Linked DNA regions of Homo sapiens: all the other regions are linked to region 1. The links are contacts of gene promoters, found by promoter capture Hi-C in human tissues and cell types (Jung and others, 2019). All regions are on one chromosome and are shown on one strand. Each heading gives the region's core, a stretch centred on a gene start or on the middle of the fragment in contact. The rest is flanking DNA. Distances are from core to core; before and after follow the strand shown.

Region 1 (4,276 bases), core at 553-3,052:
CTAAGCCTTTCTGAGCTTCATTTTTCTCATCTGTAGGATGAGGTGTCTCCAGGTTATTGTGAAGATGTGTATATGCGGTGCTTTATGAACCACAAAGCTGCATGTGGTTGTCAGGTTCCCTCTTCTGGCCTTGTGAGCTGGAGACACACACACACATTTCTCCCCAAACTGTCTCAGCCCCCAGGCACCTACTGCAAGGACTCGGGGATCGTGCAGAGGTGCAAAGGAGTCGTGCCCTCCTCAGTCAGCACATTAGCCTTGGCTCCGAAGGTCAGCAGCAGCCGCACACAGTCAAACTGGGCTCGGGCACAGGCCTCATGCAAGGCAGCGCGACCCCCGACACGGGCATCCAGCTCAGCTCCCTGCCGGATCAGGTGTCGAGCACAGTCTGTGTAGCCTCGGGCTGTAGCGATGGCGAGGGGTGCCGTCTGCTTGGTCTTGGGGGTCAGCACCCAGAACCCTAGGGAGAGCAAATAGTTTTGGGAGGTGGTGTATAAGACAGGGCAGGGCAGGGAGTGGGGATGCTGGTTCCAGCTGACAGCTGACACTGGCCTTCCCTCTGCATGGTTTGCTGAGCACAAACACTGCCAGGCTGTACCTGTGGAAGGGGGCTTATTCAAGTCCTGAAGTGGAAGAATAAATTGGAACAGCCTTTTAATACAGCTTATCAATCTGTAACAAAACATAGTATGTGTCATAAAAAAATTAATTGCTGTATAAAACCACAGGGGCCAACTAAGTAGAGTGACTCCCATTAAGGAAATCTCAGCGTCTTTGAATGGCTAATAGTGTCAAAGGCTTGTTCACCTTGGGGCCTGGGGTGGTGGCTCACACCTGTAATCCTAGCACTTTGGGAGGCCAAGGCGGGATGATCACTTGACCTCAGGAGTTCGAGATGAGCCTGGGCAACATAGTGAGACCTTGTCTCTTTTTTTTTTTTTTTTAGGCAGGGTCTCGCTCTGTCCCCCAGGCTGGAATGCAGTGGCGCTATCTTGGCTCACTGCAAGCTCCGCCTCCCGGGTTTAAGTGATTCTTCTGCCTCAGCTGCTGAGTAGCTGGGATTACAGGTGCGCACCACCATGCCCGGCTAATTTTTCTATTTTTAGTAGAGATGGGGTTTTACCATGTTGGTCAGGCTGGTCTCAAACTTCTGACTTCGTGATCCGCCTGCCTTGGCCTCCCAAAGTGCTGGGATTACAGGCGTGAGCCACTGTGCCCGGTCAACTTTTAATTCTTAAAAGACATACAGACTGCTAACCCTGCCTCATCTCTGTTTAGGAGGGAGCTAGGATAGGTGGTGGAAAGGGCTGCTATAGTCTGTGGTCTGCAGGGAAGGAGGGGCCTAGACTCTCCCCCTTCCCCACCCACTCCCCTTCTTTCTCCCTCCTCTTCTGCCCTCTTCTGGTGCCCCCTACCCTGTTCAGCCGACCAGGCCAGCTGGTTGCTCACAGTCTCCACAATCATGTTGGCGGCCTCTTCATCTTGGAACAGGGCTTGGACCTGCTGCAGGTTGCCGGAGAAGAGGGCTTGGTGGACAGCTGGGTCTCGGCAGGAACGGTGAGGCCTAGTGAGTCGGGCCCGGGGACTTGACGGGCACCTGCGGCTCCGGCACTGCTGGGCAGCCGCCCGCCGCCGGTCCTCCCATTCCAGCCACTCCTGCTGCAGGCGGAGAGAGCGCAGCATGGAGGAGGTGAAGGGGAAGGTCTCTCTTGCCATGGATGGGGCCCAGGGGTTTGGGCAGTGGCACCTGGGCAGAGCCAGGTTCCCTCGACCCGACTACCTCCCTTGCTCTGAGGAGCCACCCTGCCCCCGCCACCGTGAGCCAGAGAAAGCAGCAGCTGAGGCTATAAATAGGTCCTTTGCTGCTCTGGTAAACATGGTTTGCTCAGAGTCATGATCCTGGTGCTGAGAAGCTGCTGGCCCAACCCCCAGCCCAGGGTGAGGGCCAGCCCCTGCCCCTGCCGATACCCTTTGGTTGGTCAGCAGGCCCTCAGCTGAGGCCACCCCCGAACCCCAGCATCTGCATCCACCTTCATCTCTAGAGCGAGCATCTTGGGTTGGCAAGGTCCAGGGTGCGCAAAAAGGTCAGTCATGGAGATGGGCAGGGCTGGGAGGAAGACAAGGTGCCTCCAGCCTCTCTGATGTTGGCTGGAGGGCAGGAGCCACCATTGGCCCACGTGGAGGAGAGAGGGCTGACCTCAGCACAGGAGGTAAGGGGAGGTCAAGGCAGAGTTACTGAGAAGGTGAGCAGCTCTTCCCAGCATCTGCAGTAACAGCAATAACTCTGTACATATGCACAGAGTTTCACGGTGTTTAAATCACATTCATATCCACCTTCACCCAGGGGATCATACTTCCCAGCCCACCCAATAATTAGTAAACTTGGTTTGGACAATAAATGAAATTATCACAGTTGAATGCCCCTGAGATGGGTGGTCTTATCTCTGTTTTACAGATGAGGAATTTAAGGCTTAACAAAGTAATCTACTGGCTCAAGGTCACAGTTTGTGAGAGGCAGAGCCAGGACCCCACATAGATGGTGTGCTTTGGGCCAAGAATGGTGGCTCATGCCTGTAATCCTAGCACTTTGGGAGGCCAAGACAGGAGGATTGCTTGAGCCTAGGAGTTTGAGACAATCCTGGGCAACACAGTGAGACCTATATCTTTTTTTTTTTTTTTTTTTTTTTTGAGACAGAGTCTCACCCTGTCTCCCATGCTGGAGTGCAATGGCACGATCTTGGCTCACTGCAACCTCCGCCTCCCGGGCTCAAACGATTCTCTTGCCTCAGCCTCCTGAGTAGCTGGGATTATAGGCACCCGCCACCATGCCCAGCTAAATTTTGTATTTTTAGTAGAGATTTAATTTAGGGTTTCACCATGTTGGCCAGGCTGGTCTCGAACTCCTGACCTCGTGGTCTGCCCGCCTCGGCCTCCCAAAGTGCTAGGATTATAGGCGTGAGCCACCACCCCCTGCCTCTCCATCTCTTAAAAAAAGAAGAAAAAAAAAAAAAGATGGTACACTTTTTGCCTTCAGCTGCTGCAGCCACCTGGCAGCCTCCCCCATTCTCCAAGCAGGACAGACTAGTCTGTAGAAACTGCCTTCAATCATCCTTTTTTTTTTTTTCTCATGGTGTCACCCAGTCTGGAGTGCAGTGGGGTGATCTCGGCTCACTGAAACCTCCGTTTCCTGGGGTTCAAGTGATTCTCCTGCCTTAGCTGCCTGAGTAGCTGGGATTATAGGTGCATGCCACCATGCCCAGCTGATTTTTGTATTTTTATTTATTATTATTTTTTTTTTGAGATGGAGTCTCGCTCTGTCACCCAGGCTGGAGTGCAGTGGCGCGACCTCGGCTCACTGCAAGCTCCGCCTCCCGGGTTCACGCCATTCTCCTGCCTCAGCCTCCCGAGTAGCTGGGACCACAGGCGCCTGCCACCACACCTGGCTAATTTTTTGTATTTTTAGTAGAGACAAGGTTTCGCCGTATTAGCCAAGAATAGGATGGTTTCGATCTCCTGACCTCGTGATCCGCCCGCCTCGGCCTCCCAAAGTGCTGGGATCACAGGCGTGAGCCACCGCGCCCGGCCGATTTTTGTATTTTTAGTAGTCGGTTTCGCCATGTTGGCCAGGCTGGTCTGAAACTCCTGACTTCAGGCGATCTGCCCGCCTCGGCCCCCCAAAGTGTTGGTATTACAGGCGTGAGCCACAGCTCCCAGCACCTTCAATCATCCTTGATTTATTTTTTTAACCCAGCTGCTAAGGGGGCTCACATGGCCGGCCTGAGGAGAGCCAAGGGGTTGAGCTGGAAACTCTGGGAATGGACCTAAGATGTTTAAGCCACAGACCTGTTCACTCTTAGGAGAAAGCAGCTGTGCTTCCAGGAGCCTCTAGGGGGAGGAATGAAGCCGTGAAACCACACAAGCTGGTGTGCCTGCCAAGCTGGGGAAGGGGAGGGCTCAAAAGCTCTGCTCACCCTGAGCTCACTCAGTGCACAGCGGCCTGCAGGCAGGGCTGGTCTGTCCCCTCTGCATCTGGGGCTCCTCCTGGCCCTTCTCCCGCTGCCTGTCCTGCCTCCTGGCCCTGCAGCAGCACCTTGCCCAGTGATCTTTTATTTCTTCCTCTCCCTAGGCCCTTCCCATAAGCAAGTTCTAGCTCCTGTTCTTACATTTTCAGGGACTGTCTCAAGTTCAGCCCCTCGATGTAATGCCTTAAACCTGGATCAACTCAGTCTTTCACCTGGTGTTTCTTCCTCTGGCCATATCCCTTCTGCTCCGCTGC
Region 2 (4,276 bases), core at 503-3,002, 250 kb after region 1:
CTCATTCAAAAAGGCTGCCAGAGAAAAGGTGTCCACAAGGAAATTCAGGGGTTTTGTTTGTTTGTTTTGGGATTTTTTCTGGAGACAGTCTCACTCTGTCACCCAGGCTGGAGTGCAGTAGTGTGATCTCAACCTCCACCTTCCAGGTTCAAGTGATTCTCCTGCCGTAGCCTCCCAAGTAGCTTGGATTACAGGCACCCACCACCACACCCAGCTGATTTTTATTTTTATTTTTTGTAGAAACAAGATTTCACCATGTTGGCCAGGCTGGTCTTGAACTCCTGACCTCAAGTGATCCTCCTGCCTTGGCCTCCCAAAGTGCTGGGATTACAGGTGTGAGCCACCACGCCCAGCCAGGAAATTCAGTTTCTGAAAATACACCTGTGGATCTCTAGCCTTGAACATCCTTGTGTGCTGCTTTAAATGGCTGATCCTCAATGCCTCCCTTCCAACTCACACACGCTCGCTCCCCTACATCAATCTCCCAGAAAAAGGAACCTATTTTATTCTTTTCTTTTCTTTTTTTTTTTTTTTTTTTTTTTTAGAGACAGGCCTCACCTTGTTGCCCAGGCTGGTTTTGAACTCCTGGCCTCAAGTGATCCTCCGGCCTTGGCCTCCCAAGTTACTGAGTTCACAGGCGCGAGCCACCACGACCAGTGAAGCCTATATTAAGCCCTTTTATGCTCACTCTGCGATACTGCAGAGAGGGCAGGGAGGAAGCAGAGGTGCCCTGGCATCTTCAGCTGGCGGTGAGCAGGGCGCTGAGGGTGGGAGAGGCCGGGCGCCTGGGGATGGGAGGCAGGACCGCACCTTCACAGGGATGCTGCCACCCTACCCCGGAGGTCAGGGCCTCTCGCCCAGCTCTGGCTCTGAGGTCCTGGAGGGAGGGAGATGCTGTTGCGACTCAGAAGATCAGGGGAGGGCCACCCCCATTCGAGAAAAGTGAAAATCCTGAGCCTGAAGCAGAAGTGGAGACGGTTGGAGCGGAGGCTTCAGAGGGTGGCGTTGGGAAGAGGGTCTGGCGCCGCCGTGTGGACTGTTCGGGCTCACGGGGCTGAAGGCTCCGAAGACCGAGACCTGTGAACCGTGGGGAGGCTCCATGCGGATGGGGGCCACAGCCCCCGCCGGAGCCCCCACACTAGCCCTGGACTTCTCCACCGGCTTACGACATGATAGCTCAATAAGCTCCTTATTTAACGCACTGTTGTATCAGGTCCCTGTCGCAGCCACTGGCCCTATAGCCTAATAAAGGAGCGGGTGCACGCATTGGATTGGTGAGCTACCGCCACAGCAACAAGTCCTAATCAACCATCCCAAACGGTGGCTGGAACAAGGTTCTCGCAGGCCTGTGCTTGGGCTTGAACGCTGGGCCGGCCGCTGCGCTCTGTGGCTCCCTGCAGACCTGCGGATCGGCCAGGGGGCTCCGATCCTTTTGGGCCGTGGCTGAAGAAGCAGCGGCTGCACCAGAGAAGTCCTTCTGGGTGAAGGTGGAAGCGCACAGGGACCGCGGAACCGCCCAAGGCGTCTTCCGGCGTAGGCTCAGAACTGGCAGGCTTTCGTTTCTGCTTCATTCCATGGCCAGAGCAAGCCACGTGGGCAAGCCCGAAACCAGGGGGCGGGAAAGTACCCTCCACCCACAAGGAAACCATGGCAAGCGGTGGTTGCAGGTAGGGCTGAGGAATTGGGGCCGATAGTTCTATCTATCCCGGTGAGTGAGGAGACCTGCTTTGGGGGTTGCACAGTCTGGGTCTGCCCTTGCAGTGGTATCTGTCTCTGTGAAGACTCCACCACGGGTCGCCATCAGGTCAGAGACCCTGACAAGGTAAGAATTTGCATTTTCCTCTGCACACAACCCTGTTCCCTTCCCCTCCGCATGCCTAACACAACACTCCCTTCCCCCCCATGCCTAACAGAGAGAAAGGAGAGAGACAGTTCTTGAGCCCGGTTCTTCCTGCTTGAGCTTGGTGTGTCAACCAAAAGAGTCAAACTCTGTAAAATATTTGAAGGGATTTATTTTGAGCCTACTATGCATGACCAATGGCCCATGACAGCCTTCAGCAGATCCTGAGAACATGTGCCCAAGGTGATCAGGCCACAACTTGGTTTTATGTGTTTCAGGGAGACATCGGACATCAATAATATATGCGACATGTACAGTGGTTTGATCTGGAAAGGCTGGACAACTGGAATGGGGTTGGGGAAGTGGACGACTTCCAGGTTATAAGTAGATCGAAAGATTTTCTGATTGGCAATTGGTGGAAAGAGTTAAATTACTGTCTAAAGACTTAAAATCAACAGAAAGGAATGTTTGGGTTAAGATAAGAGATTGTGGAGACCAAGGTTTTATCACGCAGGTGAAGCCTCCAGGTGGCAGGCTTCAGAGAGAATAGACTGTAAATGTTTCCTTTCAGACTTAAAGAGTCTGTTCTATCAGTAAGTCCAAAAGGAGGGATCGTATAATTAGGCATGACTGGGCTCCCCTTCCCATCATGGCCTGAACTAGTTTTCAGGTTAACTTTGGAATGCCCTTTGCTGAGTGGAGAGGAGGAGTCCATTCAGATGGTTGGGTGAGCTTAGAATTTTATGTTTGGGTTTCAGTTGGCATCCAGTATCCCTTCCCCCAAGTTTGGGGCCCCTCCCAAAGGAGATAGGCCTGGGTCTCTCCTCACATCCTTGGGGGTCTCAGAACTGCAGACTCAAACCTTTTGCCTCAAGGAATCCCTTTGATGATTTGCATAAACCCTTGGGAGGCTGCAGGGGGGCTGCTCTGGAGCTGAGACACAGCGAGTCAATCTCCCTCCATCCCCCTTTTGTCTTGTTCTCACCCTGAGGCTGCAGGCCTCAAGTTTTTTGGCTGGATTCTTCCCAAAGCAGGTTGGGGGTGCAGGTACTGTAATCACCTGATGGGTTCTTCCTGCCTACTGCACAGACAAAACCAATCCACTGAGACCATGGCATTGCAGTAAAGAAAGAGTAATTGACACAAGGCCGGGCACACAGGAAATAGTTATTACTCAAATCGGTCTCCCCCAAAACTTGAAGATTAGTTTTTCAAAGATAGTTTGGTGGGCAGGGTCTAGGGTAGGGTAGAGGTGCTGCTGATTGGTTGGGCATGCAGATATAGGGGTATGGAAAATGGTCCTTGAATGCTGAGTCTGCTTCTGGTTGGCAGCCACAGGACTGGTTGAGTCACGAGTCTCGATGGAGCCAGAAATGCATAAAGAAACATCTTTCCTTATGCAGATGTTGATCAGCTGTGCTTACACATTCCTTTGTAAGGACAGGACAGTCTCCCCTAAGTTAGGGGACAAAAGTGACTCCTACTGATGGCATTAGCTCTGCCCCTACTCTCAGATGCAATGCCAGGGACTGTGAGGACTAGAGACCCTGGAGCTGCTGGCTGGGTGTGGTCGGGGGCCAGTTATCAGCCTCTCTGAACTCCATGTCCTTAGTACTAAACAGAAGCCCCTTTTGCAGGGTGGGCACTGGGAAGCACTGTTGGGGCCATCCTTTGTTGGTGGCCTCTTCTCTTCCATCTCCTCTGGGTTTTCACGGCTTTTTCAGGAGCAGGCCTTGCCACCCTGAGTGCCCTCCATGACCACAGCTACCTTCTGAGGAAAGAGGCCTCGGGGGTCCTCTCTGCATGTAGTTGCCGGGCAGGCCTCGCCTGGCTGTATATGGGAATCACCTGGGGAACGTTACAAACCACTATTGTGTTGCCCTGCCTCCCAGAGATTCTGCACCTTGTATTAACTGAGCACCTAGAGCCAGGTGTGGTGATGCACACCTGTAGTCCCAGCTACTCAGGAAGCTGAGGTGGGAGGATTCCCTGAGACCAGGAGTTCAAGATTAAGCCTGGGGAAACTACTGAGACCCCCATCTCAAAATTAATTAATTAAAAAATACTGAGCACCTACTCAATGGCCAGCACTGAACTAGGTGCTGGAGTTACAGTGATCACTAAGATATAATTGTTGTCCTCGAAGAACTTCAGTCAGGTGGGAATAGATATTTATTGAATGGAATAATATTTCAAGAAATATCTACCAAGAGGCCACTTCTTGGAAATCCCTGTTGGAAAGATTTTTATCTTTTTTATGAGCAGAGTGCAAAGTTGTCTCTTTAGATGGATGAATTTTGAAGGGAAGTTAGTAATCTAGTTCCTATCCCCCAACCTCCCATTTTACAGACGCAAAAACCAAGGCCAAACAGCTGAGTTTTCTGCCCTGGAGGAGGAAAGTGGTCTCTGAAAGCCAGAAGACTCTCACATTACATA
Region 3 (4,276 bases), core at 1,137-3,636, 220 kb after region 1:
CTCGCCTCCCCAGATCCAATTCCTTCCCCTTCGCTTCCGCAGGTCGGAGGGCCCAGACCTGTGGTGAGGACCCCTGAGGCCTCCTGGGAGATCTGCCAACCACGCCCACGTCATTTGCATACGCACTCCCGACCCCAGAAACCCGGATTCTGCCTCCCGACGGCGGCGTCTGGGCAGGGTTCGGGTGCGGCCCTCCGCCCGCGTCTCGGTGCCCCCGCCCCCTGGGCTGGAGGGCTGTGTGTGGTCCTTCCCTGGTCCCAAAATAAAGAGCAAATTCCACAGAAACGGAATGTATGCCTTTGTATTTCCTTTCCTTTCTCCTTCGTGGAGGTGGCATCCCGTAGAAGTGGAGGGTGGAGGCGTGGGGGCCAGGGAAGAGAAAACCGACTTGGACAGAGGCGCCCCAGGACAAGGCTGGGGCGGGCTGCGGAGTTCCCTCTGCTCGGAGCCCAGGGAAGACTCGACCACCCAGCCTGGAGCTGGACAGCGCCCAGGCCAGGAACTGCTGTGGAAGGAACTCTGGTCGAGTGGGGGCAGGAGTGGATGGAACTCTGGAAGAAGGGGCGGGGAGCGGCGACAGGAGCCTGCTAGGCAGCCTAGGAGAGCAGATGGGGTCAGGGCTGTCCCTCCCCCACCCCGTGAAGCCGAAGACGGCTGGGGGACGAGTCGGGCACCAACACCCCGGGGCGTTTCCCCAGGAGCTGTAGTACTAGCGCCCAGGGCTGGAGTGGCTGGAGGTGAAGTGTAATCCAAAATGGGGCTGTGGAGGAAGAGCCGTGTGGGGGTGAGATGGCTGTACGTGTGCTGGCCGGAGAGGCAGGCCATTTCTACCGTCCCCCTTTCCCTGAGTAGAGGAGCAATGGGAGTGTGGAGGCTGCCCTATCCCTAAGAAACCTCCCTCCCCAATCTCGCTGAATTCACACGCAGTGGATAAGTCACGAACTGTTCTTTCTTAGTGACAAGGCCATAGGGACACCCTCCATGTACCCCCCTCCCCTGGACTAGCTACTGAAGCCTAAAGGCTCTGTGGATGTTTAAACTGGAATCCAACTCGAATCCCTCACCACTCTGTACCTATTCCAGAGCCTGCCTGCAGACTGATCTCCCCTGACATCCACCCTTCCCTGCCCCTTTCCTCCAAGAAGCTTGCCTTGATTGCCCAATTGCACTCTTCCTGCCCTCTCTAACTGCCCAGCTCTCAGGGCCTCTGCTCTGTTCACTGAGAGTTCTATGTCTCTGTGTCCTGTCTCCCTCCTGGGGCCTCAAGAAGGAAGGGCCTATGTCTCCTTCCTGGGACACAGCCTCCTGTATCTGTGGGCTCTCTTCTGGGACTCCAGTTCAGCAAGACCTGCCCAAATCTGAAGCAGGGCACTAGGAGATGAGGGGGGAAATCAGGTTGACTTCAAAACCTGTGACCCAGAGAGGGGAAAAACGACAGGAAGGCTGGGGGCATCCTTGCAGCGGATCAGGGGTTTTTTTGTTTTGTTTTTTGTTTTAGAGATGGAGTTTTTGCTTTTGTCGCCCAGGCTGGAGTGCAGTGGTGCGATCTTGACTCACTCCAACCTCCACCTCCTGGGTCCAAGTGATTCTCCTGCCTCAGCCTCCCGAGTAGCTGGGACTACAGGTTCTCACCACCACACCTAGCTAATTGTTGTATTTTTGGTAGAGACGGGGTTTCACCGTGTTGGCCAGGATGGTCTCAATCTCCTGACCTCGTGATCTGCCTGCTTCGGCCTCCCAAAGTGCTGGGATTACAGGCGTGAGCCACCGCGCCTGGGCTGGATCAGGGTTTTTAAGGAGTATTTGCAGTTCAATGGTTCTGGAAGGAGAGAAGACTCTAAAGCTGACTCTGCCATAGCTGCAGAGAAGTTCCCTGCTTGGACACAGGTCCCTTGGGGGCCACAGGGCTCTGACACCCACCCTCCCCTGTGCTGCCCTCCAGCCTCCCTGGAGGTAGAGCTGAAAGGATGAGGCAGAGGAGGCAGGTGGAGGTCACTGGCTATGTGGATTCTGATGCTCTGCGCCTTTGCCCAGGCCACTTTACCTCCTTGCAGAGCCCTTTCCCTCTCTTAAGCCTGGAAGATACTCTCAGGATAGTGGTCACCTCCTCCTGGAAGCCTTGCCTGATTTCTTGGGGATGGAGTTAGTTTCTTTGACTCCCTCTCCCCACTCATTATCTTAGACCCACTTTCCATCCTATTTTGCCTCCTGTCTTCTCTCCTGCAACAGGACAGGTGGGACGAGAGCACACAGTGGCTGCCCTGAGCTTTGGTTCATTGTGTGGGTGGGGAGTGGGAGGATGTGTCTGTGTGTTGGTGTCCATGATCCCCTGTCTATTGGTCTGCCTGGGAGAGCTATAGTCAGTTTAAGGCGGATGGAAGAGAGACCTGGTATGAGTTAGGCATGACCACAGACAATTTCTGCCCAGCTTGACATGTCTCATTGACCATCAGTGACATGGGTCCACCTCATGTTCATTTTGAGGAGTGTTGAGCAGTTTAGGGTAATAACATTATTAATAATTATTATTAGTATAATAATAATGACAATAGCAATAATTATTTTTTCCAAAAAGCACTTATTTATGTGCGAGACACTGAGCTGTTTGTTTTACATATATCATATTACTAGGATATTGATTTGGCTTAAAAAAAAAACAGGTGGAATTAACAGTGGCTTAAACAAGATGGAAATTTATTTCTCTTGCATGAAATGTGAGTGGCACGTGGGGAGTTGGCAGTTGTGCTCCATGAGGGCATCCAAGAGCCCAGGCTCCTCGTTTGTGGCTTCCCCATGCCCTCATCTATGTCATTTACAGGACTGAAGACAGCCCACCATGGCCTCATCTGTGTTCCGGCCAGTGGCAAGGGAGGGAAGGGGAAGGTAAGCACTCTGGTTACTATGTTGTATAATAAGTTACCCTAAAACTTGGCAGCTTCAAGCAACCATTGTACATCACTCAGGATTTTGTGGGTCAGGATCAGGAAGTGCTCCCCCTGGCAGTTCTTGCTTTGAGTCTCACATGCGGATACTATCAGAGGTTGGCAGGGTTGTGGTTAAGGATCCACTGGGCTGATGCCTGAGAAGGCTCATTCGCATGCTAGTGCTGGCTGTTGAGTTCAGCCGGGGCTGTTGACCATTGTACCTACATGTGGCCTCCCCAGTCTGATATTCTTGGGGTAGTTGGACTTAAATGGTAACTGGTCTCCTGCTTGGAGTATTTAAAGAGAATCAGATGAAGATGGCATTGCTGGTTAGTTTGCTAGGGCTGCCATAACAAAGAATCACAGACTGGGTGGTTTAAACAACAGTTCCTGTGGCTAGCAGTCTGAAATGAAGGAGTTGGCAGGTTGATTCCTTCTGATCTGTTCCAGGCCTCTCTCCTTGCCTTGAAGATGGGTGTCTGAGCTGTGCCTCTTCACATCATCTTCCCTCTTTGCATGGCTGTTTCTGTGTCTAAATTTCCCCTTTTCAAAGGCGAACAGTCCTATAGGATTAGGGGTTCACACACTGTAGTATGACCTCATCATTTTTTTTTTTTTTTTGAGATGGAGTCTCGCTCTGTCGCCCAGGCTGGAGTGCAGTGGCATGATCTAGGCTCACGACAACCTCCGCCTCGCGGGTTCAAGCGATTCTCCTGCCTCAGGCTCTGGAGTAGCTGAGACTACAGGCACGCGCCACCACACCCGGCTAATTTTTGTATTTTTAGTACAGATGGGGTTTCACTATGTTGGCCAGGGTGATCTCAAACTCCTGACCTTGTGATCCACCCGCCTTGGCCTCCCAAAGTGCTGGGATTTCAGGCGTGAGCCACCGCGCCTGGCAACCTCATTTTAACTAATTACATCTGCAAAGACCCCATTTCTAAATAAGGTCACACTCTGAAGTACTGGGAGTTAGGACTTATGAATTAGAACATATGAATTTCAGGGGGGGCACAATTTAACTCATGACAATCATTTTTGTGACCCAGCCTCAGGAGATAAGGCATCATATCCCATATTCTGTTGGTCAAAGCAGTCACAAGTGCATTCACATTCAAGAAGAGGGGACACAGACCCCACTGTAGAATTACACATGAGATAGGAGATTTTTTTTGTCATCTTTGAAAAATATAATCTGCCATAGGCAGGCACATCCATTCCTAAAAACGGAATGGCAAAAATCACTTTAACTCTCAGCCCATTGGCTAAAGCCTGGTCTCATGGCCCCACTTAGTTGCAAAGACAACCTATGAGATGTGTTTAGCTGAGTGGCTGTGTGCTCATCTTAAGCT
Region 4 (4,276 bases), core at 649-3,148, 180 kb after region 1:
GATTGCATGTATTAGGTTGGTGCAAAAGTAATTGCGGTTTTTGCCATTAGAAGTAATATTTCAGCAAGTGCCCAGAAGCTGAATTTCTGGGTTAGAGTGCATGAATATTTTTAATGCTCTTGAGTCTTGAGAAGTTGCTTTTCTTTCTTTCTTTTTTTTTTTTTTTTTTGAGATGGAGTCTCGCTCTGTCACCCAGGCTGGAGTGCAATGGTGCGATCTCGGCTCACTACAACCTCCACCTCCTGGCTTCAAGCAATTCTCATGCCTTAGCCTCCCGAGTAGCTGAGATTACAGGTGTGTGCCACTGTGCCTGGCTAATTTTTTGTATTTTTAGTAGAGACAGGGTTTCACCATGTTGGCCAGGCTGGTCTCGAACTCCTGACCTCAAGTGATCTGCCCGCCTCAGCCTCCCAAAGTGCTGGGATTACAGGTGTGAGCCACCTCGCCCCGTCGAGAAGCTGCTTTTCAAAGAGTTGTGCCAGTGTACACTCTCACCAGCCACGAGCCAGCCAGTGTGCCCGTTTTCCTGTATTCTTGCCATCTGTGAGCTTGATTAATTTATTTTGGAAATCTTACCAGGTAAAACATGGCATCCCATTTTGCCTTTTTTAGTTGCCAATGTTGGTATGGTTCCTTGCTAGTGGACTTGTCTGTTCATGTCCATTTACCTTTGGGGGAGCCTAATGTCTTACTTATAGATTTGTGTGTATATATATATATATATATATATATATATATATATATATATATATATATATATATATTTTTTTTTTTTTTTTTTTTTTTTTTTTTTTTTTTAAAGAGACAGCCTCTTGGTCTGTCTCCCAGGCTGGAGTGCGGTGGTGTGATCATAGCTCACTGCAGCCTCAAACTCCTGAGCTCAAAGGATCCTCTCACCTCAGCCTCCCAAAGTGCTGGGATTATAGGTGTGGAGCCACCATGCTGGCCTTGTATTAACCCTTTGTCATATTTGCCATCTGAATTTTTCTTAGTCTATTGATTCCTTCATTTAAAAAACAGTTATTGAGAAATGCAAATCAAAACTGCTTCACACACATCAGGATGGCTAACAACAAGTGTTGTGAGGATGTGGAGAAACTGGAATCCTAGTGTACTCTGGGTGGGAATGTGAAATGGTGTGGCTGCTATGGAAGCAGTATGGCAGTTCCTCCAAAAATTAAGATGGCAAATTTTATGTTATGTGTGTTTTTTGTTTGTTTGTTTGTTTGTTTTTGAGACGGAGTCTTGCTCTGTCACCCAGGCTGGAGTGCAGTGGCATGATCTCAGCTCACTGCAAGCTCTGCCTCCTGGGTTCACACCATTCTCCTGCCTCAGCCTCCCGAGTAGCTGGGACTACAGGCGCCCGCCACCACGCCCGGCTAATTTTTTGTATTTTTAGCAGAGACGGGGTTTCACCGTGTTAGCCAGGATGGTCTTGATCTCCTGACCTCGTGATCCGCCCGCCTTGGCCTCCCGAAGTCTTGGGATTACAGGCGTGAGCCACCGCGCCCAGCCTGTTATGTGTTTTTTACAATTAAAATGCTAGGGCCGGGTGCGGTGGCTCACACTTGTAATCTCAGCACTTTGGGAGGCTGAGGCGGGCAGATCACTTGAGGTCAGGAGTTCAAGACCAGCCTGGCCAACATGGCGAAACCCTGTCTCTACTGAAAATACAAACATTAGCCGGTGTGTTGGTGCATGCCTGTAATCCCAGCTATTCCGGAGGCTGAGGTGGGAGAATCACTTGAACCCAGGAGGTGGAGGTTGCAATGAGCCGAGATTTTGCCATTGCACTCCAGCCTGGGTGACAGAGTGATACTCCGTCTCAAAAAAAAAAAGACAGAAAGAAAGAAGAAAAAGAAAAAAAAAAGCTAGAGAACCAGAAAATATCCACTAAAAAGAAAAAAAGATGTTATTGAGTTCTACTTTGTGTTAAATATCTCTGTGTGCTGGCCATGGAGATTATCAAAACAATAAAATGTCAAGGTGCCCATGGTCCATGGGGATGGAAATATACAGAAATCATCACAACATGGTTTCAACTCCGCTCTGAGAGAGGATTGAGTGCCCTGGAGTGCTCAGGGTGGCAGTCAACCCAGGGCAGGTGAAGTGGTCAGGGAAGCTTCCCCGGGGAGCTGAATTGAGGATAAATTAAAGTTAGCCTGGCAAAGCGAGGTGGTCTGATCTGTGATTTCAGTTACGCTTTTATGACATGCACACCATTTAACGCTTGTGCGGGCAAGGCTGTTGACCTTTCTTTTTGTGATTTCTTCCAGAGCTTTTACGCTCGTAAAGCTCCCTTTCCGCAAGAGGTCTGATGATTCCATTTCGTCCTGTTTTCCACAGTTCAATTTATTTTTATATTTAACTCTTTAATCTACCTGGAAATTATTTTGATGATTGGCAGTGGGATGAGACCCTGGTGGAAGGATGAAGAGGCAGAAACAGGAGGAAATGTCTTCATTCTGCTGCCCTTCCTCCTGACTTGGTGGCTCTGGGGCTCCCACGGGTCACCTTCTCCTCTCCCTGTGGTCATTTCAGTGATGGATGAGTGGGATGGCGTGTGGCTGTGGCCCTGGGTGATTGGAGGTGATGGTCCAGTAGACCATGTTGGTCTGAATTAGGAGGGATGCAGAGCAGACTGCTGTGAGGACTTCCGGCGTGGGGACTGGACAGGACAGATGGAGGCATATGTCCCACCGCTCTCTGCCCCTCCCTGCTACCGAAGCACTCGTTCTCCATCCTTGCCCCCTTCCTCCCTCCCTATTGCTAATTTTAGTTCTCTGTTCATCTGTTTGTTTTGGGCTGTGTTCCCTGCTGGACTGTAAGCTCTTAGAGGGCACATGCCATGTCTGTTTTGCTCAGAACAACAGGCACTGGCCTCCTCTCAGTGCCTGGAGCAAGGACTGGCACAGACGAGGGGCCCAGTGAATGTTGGTTGGATGAACAAAGGGAAGAAATGGCCTCTTCATGCCAGCCCCACAGGGGTGTGGCATGTGGGAAGCTGGGAAGAGTGGTCATTCTGAGCTGTCTGCTCCAAGACCTGGAGACAGATTGCTGGATGGGGGACTGAGGATTCAGAACCCCCAGTATGGGTCGACCTCTCAAGGTCTGATCTTCGAGCTGAATTCCATCAGTAGCAGGGAGGCTGAGAGGCTGGGAGTCTCCCCTGCCCAGATGCCTTTTGTAGCTGAAGTCCCAGGGTAGAGGCGATGGGCTGGGCCCAGAGGAATAGGGCTGGGGAGACAGGGCTAGAGTCCTGGAGGCAGCTGCTTCTGATGAAGCTCAGTCTCAGGGGCTCAGAAACATTCATTACAGCCAGGAGGAGAAGTAATTAAGTCAGAGAGCAGCGGCGGGGAGGGAGGGAAGCCCCATTTTCTCAGGAGTCTCCAGGTGCAATTAATAAGGGCAAGGGAGGGGAGAGCTCTGCCCAGTCTGATGATATTGGTAATAGAGACATGGTTTCAGGGCCACGGTCACCATGTCTGTGCTGACCACCAGAGGAGGGGTGGACACAGGGGCCCGAGGAATGTGTTAGCATCTGGCTTCATGAGGCCAGGGCCAGACCGGCCTGAGCTGAGCCCTGGTGTTGCCGTTGACTTGCTGTAGGAACTTGGGCAGGTCGCATAATCTCTCTGAGCCTCAGTTTCCCTATGAGTAATGTGGAGCTAATAATGTGAACCTCATAGGATTGCTGTGGGATTAAATGTAAAATGCTTAGCAGTGTGCTTATCATGCAACAAAACTGGGATGATAGTTAGAGTTGGGATCCCAAAAATAGTTTGTGACAGCTGGTGTTGAGAATCCACGTGTCAGCAGGTATGTGGGCAGAGGGCAGGAACACGCAGGCTGCGCTGACGGTGGCTCCTGGTTTCTGAGTCCTGAGGCAGACAGCAGCCCTGGGAAGGGTATAATGAACCCCTGCTCTGTGTTTTTTTCCCCAATATCTGTGGTCCTTACATGACCTTGCAAGGCTATTATTGTTCTTTCCATTTACAGATGAGGAAACCAGGGCTTGGGAAGGCAAAGTGGCTTGCTGAAAATCAGTGGGCTGTAGAGCTGGAATTTCAGTTCAGGCTTGTCTGGTGCCACAATATTCAAACTCCTTTCCTTTAAGCTGCAAGGCTACAGAACCTTGGGGTGCACAGGAAGCCACATGACCCAGTCTTGGGGTGCACAGGAAGCCACATGACCCAGTCTTGGGGTGAACCATGGAGAGCAACAGGCATTGACCTCTCAGGCACACTCCATGCCATCTGTCTTGAACAGGCATATG
Region 5 (3,833 bases), core at 1,334-3,833, 150 kb after region 1:
GTGGGGGGACCACAGGGACAAATGGCTGTGTTCATTTCTCAGGGGCCAGGCCACCCACCCATCCCCCTCTTCTGGCCTGATAGCATGCCAGCATCTGTCCCAACCCTAGAAATGAGGATTTGGCCCCAGGTCCTTCCCTTCTCAGTATCCCTCTGGGAAAGAGGAAAGAGCAGGAAAAGGTAGAGAGGGACTTCAGCCCTGAGAAGGGGCGCAGTGGGTACCAAGGCAAGCTTCCTCAATCCAATCTTCCCCTCCCCCTGACACAAGTCCCTGGCCACTGCTGCTGGAGACTTGATTGGAAACTGCTTGCTAAGGTTATGATGGGAGGGTGGGGCATTGTGCCTATAGGGACAACCCAGGCAGACTCCTAGGACTATTTTATGGACATGTTGTACACAATCCTGGTTCTGGTCCTCGTCAACACTTTAGGGCTGTACACCTCAGCCATTTGAAACGGAGAGGTGAGGAGACTGGAAAAATAAAACCAACTGGAAAGTTGATTCTGTACTATGTGCCTATATTGTGGTAAAGGAAATTTGTTTTGTGTGGTTGTCACTGGTGGGTAGAGATAGACAAAATTACCTTTAACCCAGACTTTTTCTCATTCTCCTTGCCTAGAGACCTCCCCACCCTCCAACATACACGTATACAATCTCATTCCCTAGTTCTTTGCATCTATATGTTCCTCTCTCGTGTTTTTTTACTTTTTAGAGATGGGGGTCTTGCTTTGTCACCCAGGGTGGAGTGCAGTAGTGCAATCATAGCTCAATGCAGCCTCAAACTCCTCGAGGAATCCTCTTGCCTCAACCTCCTGAGTAGCTGGATTACAGATGTGGGCCACCATGCCTGGCTTCTCATGGTCTTTCTGATTTACCCAGACCTTATCCTAGTGACTGTGTTTGTTTATTTATGAGATAGAGTCTTGCTCTGTCATCCAGCCTGGAGTGCAGTGGTGCGATCTCGACTCACTGCAACTACCTCCTCCCAGGTTCAAGCGATCCTTCTGCCTCAGCCTCCTGAATAGTTGGGATCACAGGCTCCCGCCACCATGCCCAGCTAATTTTTAGTAGAGATGGGGTTTTGCCATGTTGGCCAGGCTGGTCTCGAACTTCTGGCCTCAAGTGATCCACCCGTGCCTCTGCCTTCCAAAGTTCTGGGATTACAGGTGTGAGCCACCATGCCCGACCCTAGTGGCCGGTTTAAAATGAAATGTGAAAAGGGGTTTTATTGCCCACCTTTCACTGGCTGGTTGGGAATTTTTTTTTTTTTTTGAGACAAGAGTTTCGCTCTTGTCGCCCAGGCTGGAGTGCAATGGCGCGAACTTGGCTCACTCCAACCTCCGTCTCCCAGATTCAAGCAATTCTCCTGCCTCAGCCTCCCAAGTAGCTGGAATTACAGGTGCCTCCCACCATGCCTGGCTTTTTTTTTTTTTTTTTTTTTTTGAGATGTTGTCTCACCTTGTCACCCAGGCTGGAGTGCAGTGGCGCGATCTCGGCTCACTGTAAGCTCTGCCTCCTGTGTTCACGCTATTCACCTGCCTCAGCCTCCCGAGTAGCTGGGACTGCAGGCGCCTGCCACCACTCCTGGCTAATTTTTTTTGTATTTTTAGTAGAGACGGGGTTTCACTGTGTTAGTCAGGATGGTCTCGATCTCCTGACCTCGTGATCCTTGGCCTCCCAAAGTGCTGGGATTACAGGCATGAGCCACCGTGCCCAGCCTAATTTTTTGTATCTTTAGTAGAGATGGGTTTTCACCATGTTGGCCACGCTGGTCTCGAACCCCTAACCTCAGGTGATCCAACCCCCCACTTGGCCTCCCAAACTGCTGGGATAATAGGCGTGAGCCACCACACCCGGCCTGGTGGGAATTTTTTTTTTTTTTTTGAGACAGAGTCTCTCAATCTGTCGCCCAGGCTGGAGTGCAGTGGCGTGATCTCGGCTCACTGCAAGGTCCGCCGCCCAGGTTCAAGCGATTCTCCTGCCTCAGCCTCCCAAGTAGCTGGGACTACAGGCGCCCGGAGTAGCTGGGATTACAGCCATCACGTCTGGCTAATTTTTGTATTTTTAGTAGAGACGGGGTTTCACCATCTTGGCCAGGCTGGTCTTGAACTCCTGACCTCGTGATCCACCCGACTCGGCCTCCTAAAGTGCTGGGATCACAGGCGTTAGCCACCGCGCCCAGCCCAACACCTTTTCATTTATCTGTACAGCACATATTTCCTGAGGGCATCCTGTATACTAGGTCCTGAGGGCATCCTGTATACTACAGATGGTTCCCAGCATTGGAGTTTTCAACTTTACATTGGTGCGAAAGCAGATCTGCATTCAGTGGAAACTGTATTTCTCTTACAATGCTGGGCAGTGTCAGCAAGCCACAGCTTCCAGTCAGCCACACATTTTCAACTTACAGTATTTTCAACCTATGATGGGTTTATCAGGATATAACTCCATCACAAGTCAAGGAGCATCTGTAAACAGTAAACAGAAACCCAGGCACCGTGTTTGTGCTTAGGGAGCTTGCGATCTAGTAGGGGAAGATTGTCAATAAAACAATCACAAATATATTGGCTGGGTGCGGTGTCTCACGCCTGTAATCCTAGCGCTTTGGGAGGCCAAGGCGGTTGGATCGCTTGAGGTTAGGAGTTCGAGAGCAGCCTGGCCAACATGGTGAAACCCTGTCTCCACTAAAAATAAAAATTAGCCGGGTGTGGTGGCAAGCGCCAGTAATCCCAGCTACTTGGGAAGCTGAGGCAGGAGAATCGCTTGAACCTGGGAGGTGTAGGCTGTAGTGAGCCAAGATCGCACCACTGCACTCCAGCCTGGGTGACACAGTGAGACCCTGTCTCAAAAATAAAAAAAAAGCATATATATGTAAAGCAGATATATATATATGTGTGTGTGTGTGTGTGTGCGTGTGTATCTATATCTATCTATCTATCTAATTGCCACCGTGCCAAGTGATTCAAAGGAAGGTAGCTGATGTTATGAGAACATATAAACGGGTGGGGCGTGGGAGAAGGGGCTGAGAACACACTGGAGGGGAATGCAGAGACCACCTGGATGTCTGCTGCAATTAAACTGACAAAGTATGACAATTTGGGTTACAGCGGGAGCATGGCAGCTGGAGAAATGGACTGACTTGAGATGTCCCAGATGTTCAGATCTCCTTTTTCTCTCAGGGCACAGGCAAAAGGCAAACCCAAAGAGGTGACTTTGAGCCAGGAGGACCCCTTACTTTGATCTTAACAGAAACGGGGGTTTCCTCTGGTGCGTTATGTGTATCATTTATTGAACCACTACTATGTACTAGGACCGACCTTGTCACATTTAAAGTTCACAACTCTGGCCTGGCGCGGTGGCTCATGCCTGTAATCCCAGCACTTTGGGAGGCCGAGGCGGGCGGATCACGAAGTCAGGAGATCGAGACCATCCTGGCTAAGACGGTGAAACTCCGTCTCTACTAAAAATACAAAAAATTAGCCGGGCGTGGTGGCGAGAGCCTGTAGTCTCAGCTACTCAGGAGGCTGAGGCAGGAGAATCGCTTGAACCCAGGTTGCGGAGGTTACAGTGAGCCAAGATCGTGCCATTGCACTCCAGCCTAGGCGACAGAGTGAGACTCCGTCTCAAAAACAAAACAAAACAAAAAAAAAAGAAAAAAAAAGTTCACAACTCTGAGGTAGGTGTAATTATCCCCATTTCATGATGAGTCTCATAAAGTTTAGGTGATGTGCCCAGAATCACACAGGGTTGGAATCAGGATTAGGGCCCTGATCGGGCTGCATTCAAAGACCAGTTTGCTTCAATACATCATACTACGGTCCAAGACTTCTGCTA

The links. The method cuts DNA at HindIII sites, captures the fragments that hold promoters and counts their contacts. A contact is called where the count stands out against the background at its distance.
Region 2: a contact is called between the fragment with the promoter of FAM215A here and the fragment with the promoter of ASB16 in region 1, in 1 of the 25 tissues and cell types used here (aorta).
Region 3: a fragment that was not itself captured here is called in contact with the fragment with the promoter of ASB16 in region 1 in 1 of the 25 tissues and cell types used here (lymphoblastoid cells).
Region 4: a fragment that was not itself captured here is called in contact with the fragment with the promoter of ASB16 in region 1 in 2 of the 25 tissues and cell types used here (lymphoblastoid cells and mesendoderm cells).
Region 5: a fragment that was not itself captured here is called in contact with the fragment with the promoter of ASB16 in region 1 in 2 of the 25 tissues and cell types used here (lymphoblastoid cells and mesenchymal stem cells).

Annotation. Positions count from the first base shown.
Region 1 is chr17:44,168,230-44,172,505 of GRCh38, reverse strand. ASB16 (ankyrin repeat and SOCS box containing 16) reads right to left here and starts at 1,802. Exons shown (of 5, transcript NM_080863.5): 1 at 1,416-1,802; 2 at 193-460. The coding sequence starts at 1,716. The HindIII fragment of the contact is 17,920 bases long and covers 1-2,195 here.
Region 2 is chr17:43,914,684-43,918,959 of GRCh38, reverse strand. FAM215A (family with sequence similarity 215 member A) reads right to left here and starts at 1,752. Exons shown (of 1, transcript NR_026770.1): 1 at 973-1,752. It overlaps LOC105371787 (a long non-coding RNA gene), which reads left to right and starts at 1,736. Exons shown (of 2, transcript XR_001752898.2): 1 at 1,736-1,822; 2 at 4,190-4,276. It overlaps LOC107985086 (a long non-coding RNA gene), which reads right to left and starts at 113. Exons shown (of 2, transcript XR_001752899.2): 1 at 1-113. RefSeq lists enhancers at 288-1,108, 1,109-1,930. The HindIII fragment of the contact is 7,093 bases long and covers 1-4,276 here.
Region 3 is chr17:43,948,747-43,953,022 of GRCh38, reverse strand. It overlaps PYY (peptide YY), which reads left to right. Exons shown (of 4, transcript NM_001394028.1): 4 at 43-290. The coding sequence ends at 67. Among named protein-coding and RNA genes, the nearest start is that of PYY, 3.1 kb to the left of the region's middle. RefSeq lists an enhancer at 1-48. The HindIII fragment of the contact is 8,547 bases long and covers 1-4,276 here.
Region 4 is chr17:43,986,332-43,990,607 of GRCh38, reverse strand. It overlaps a transcript of PYY not described here. Among named protein-coding and RNA genes, the nearest start is that of NAGS, 16 kb to the left of the region's middle. The HindIII fragment of the contact is 7,936 bases long and covers 1-4,276 here.
Region 5 is chr17:44,015,203-44,019,035 of GRCh38, reverse strand. It overlaps a transcript of TMEM101 not described here. Among named protein-coding and RNA genes, the nearest start is that of TMEM101, 2.2 kb to the right of the region's middle. RefSeq lists a silencer at 2,101-2,395 and an enhancer at 3,731-3,833. The HindIII fragment of the contact is 5,030 bases long and covers 69-3,833 here.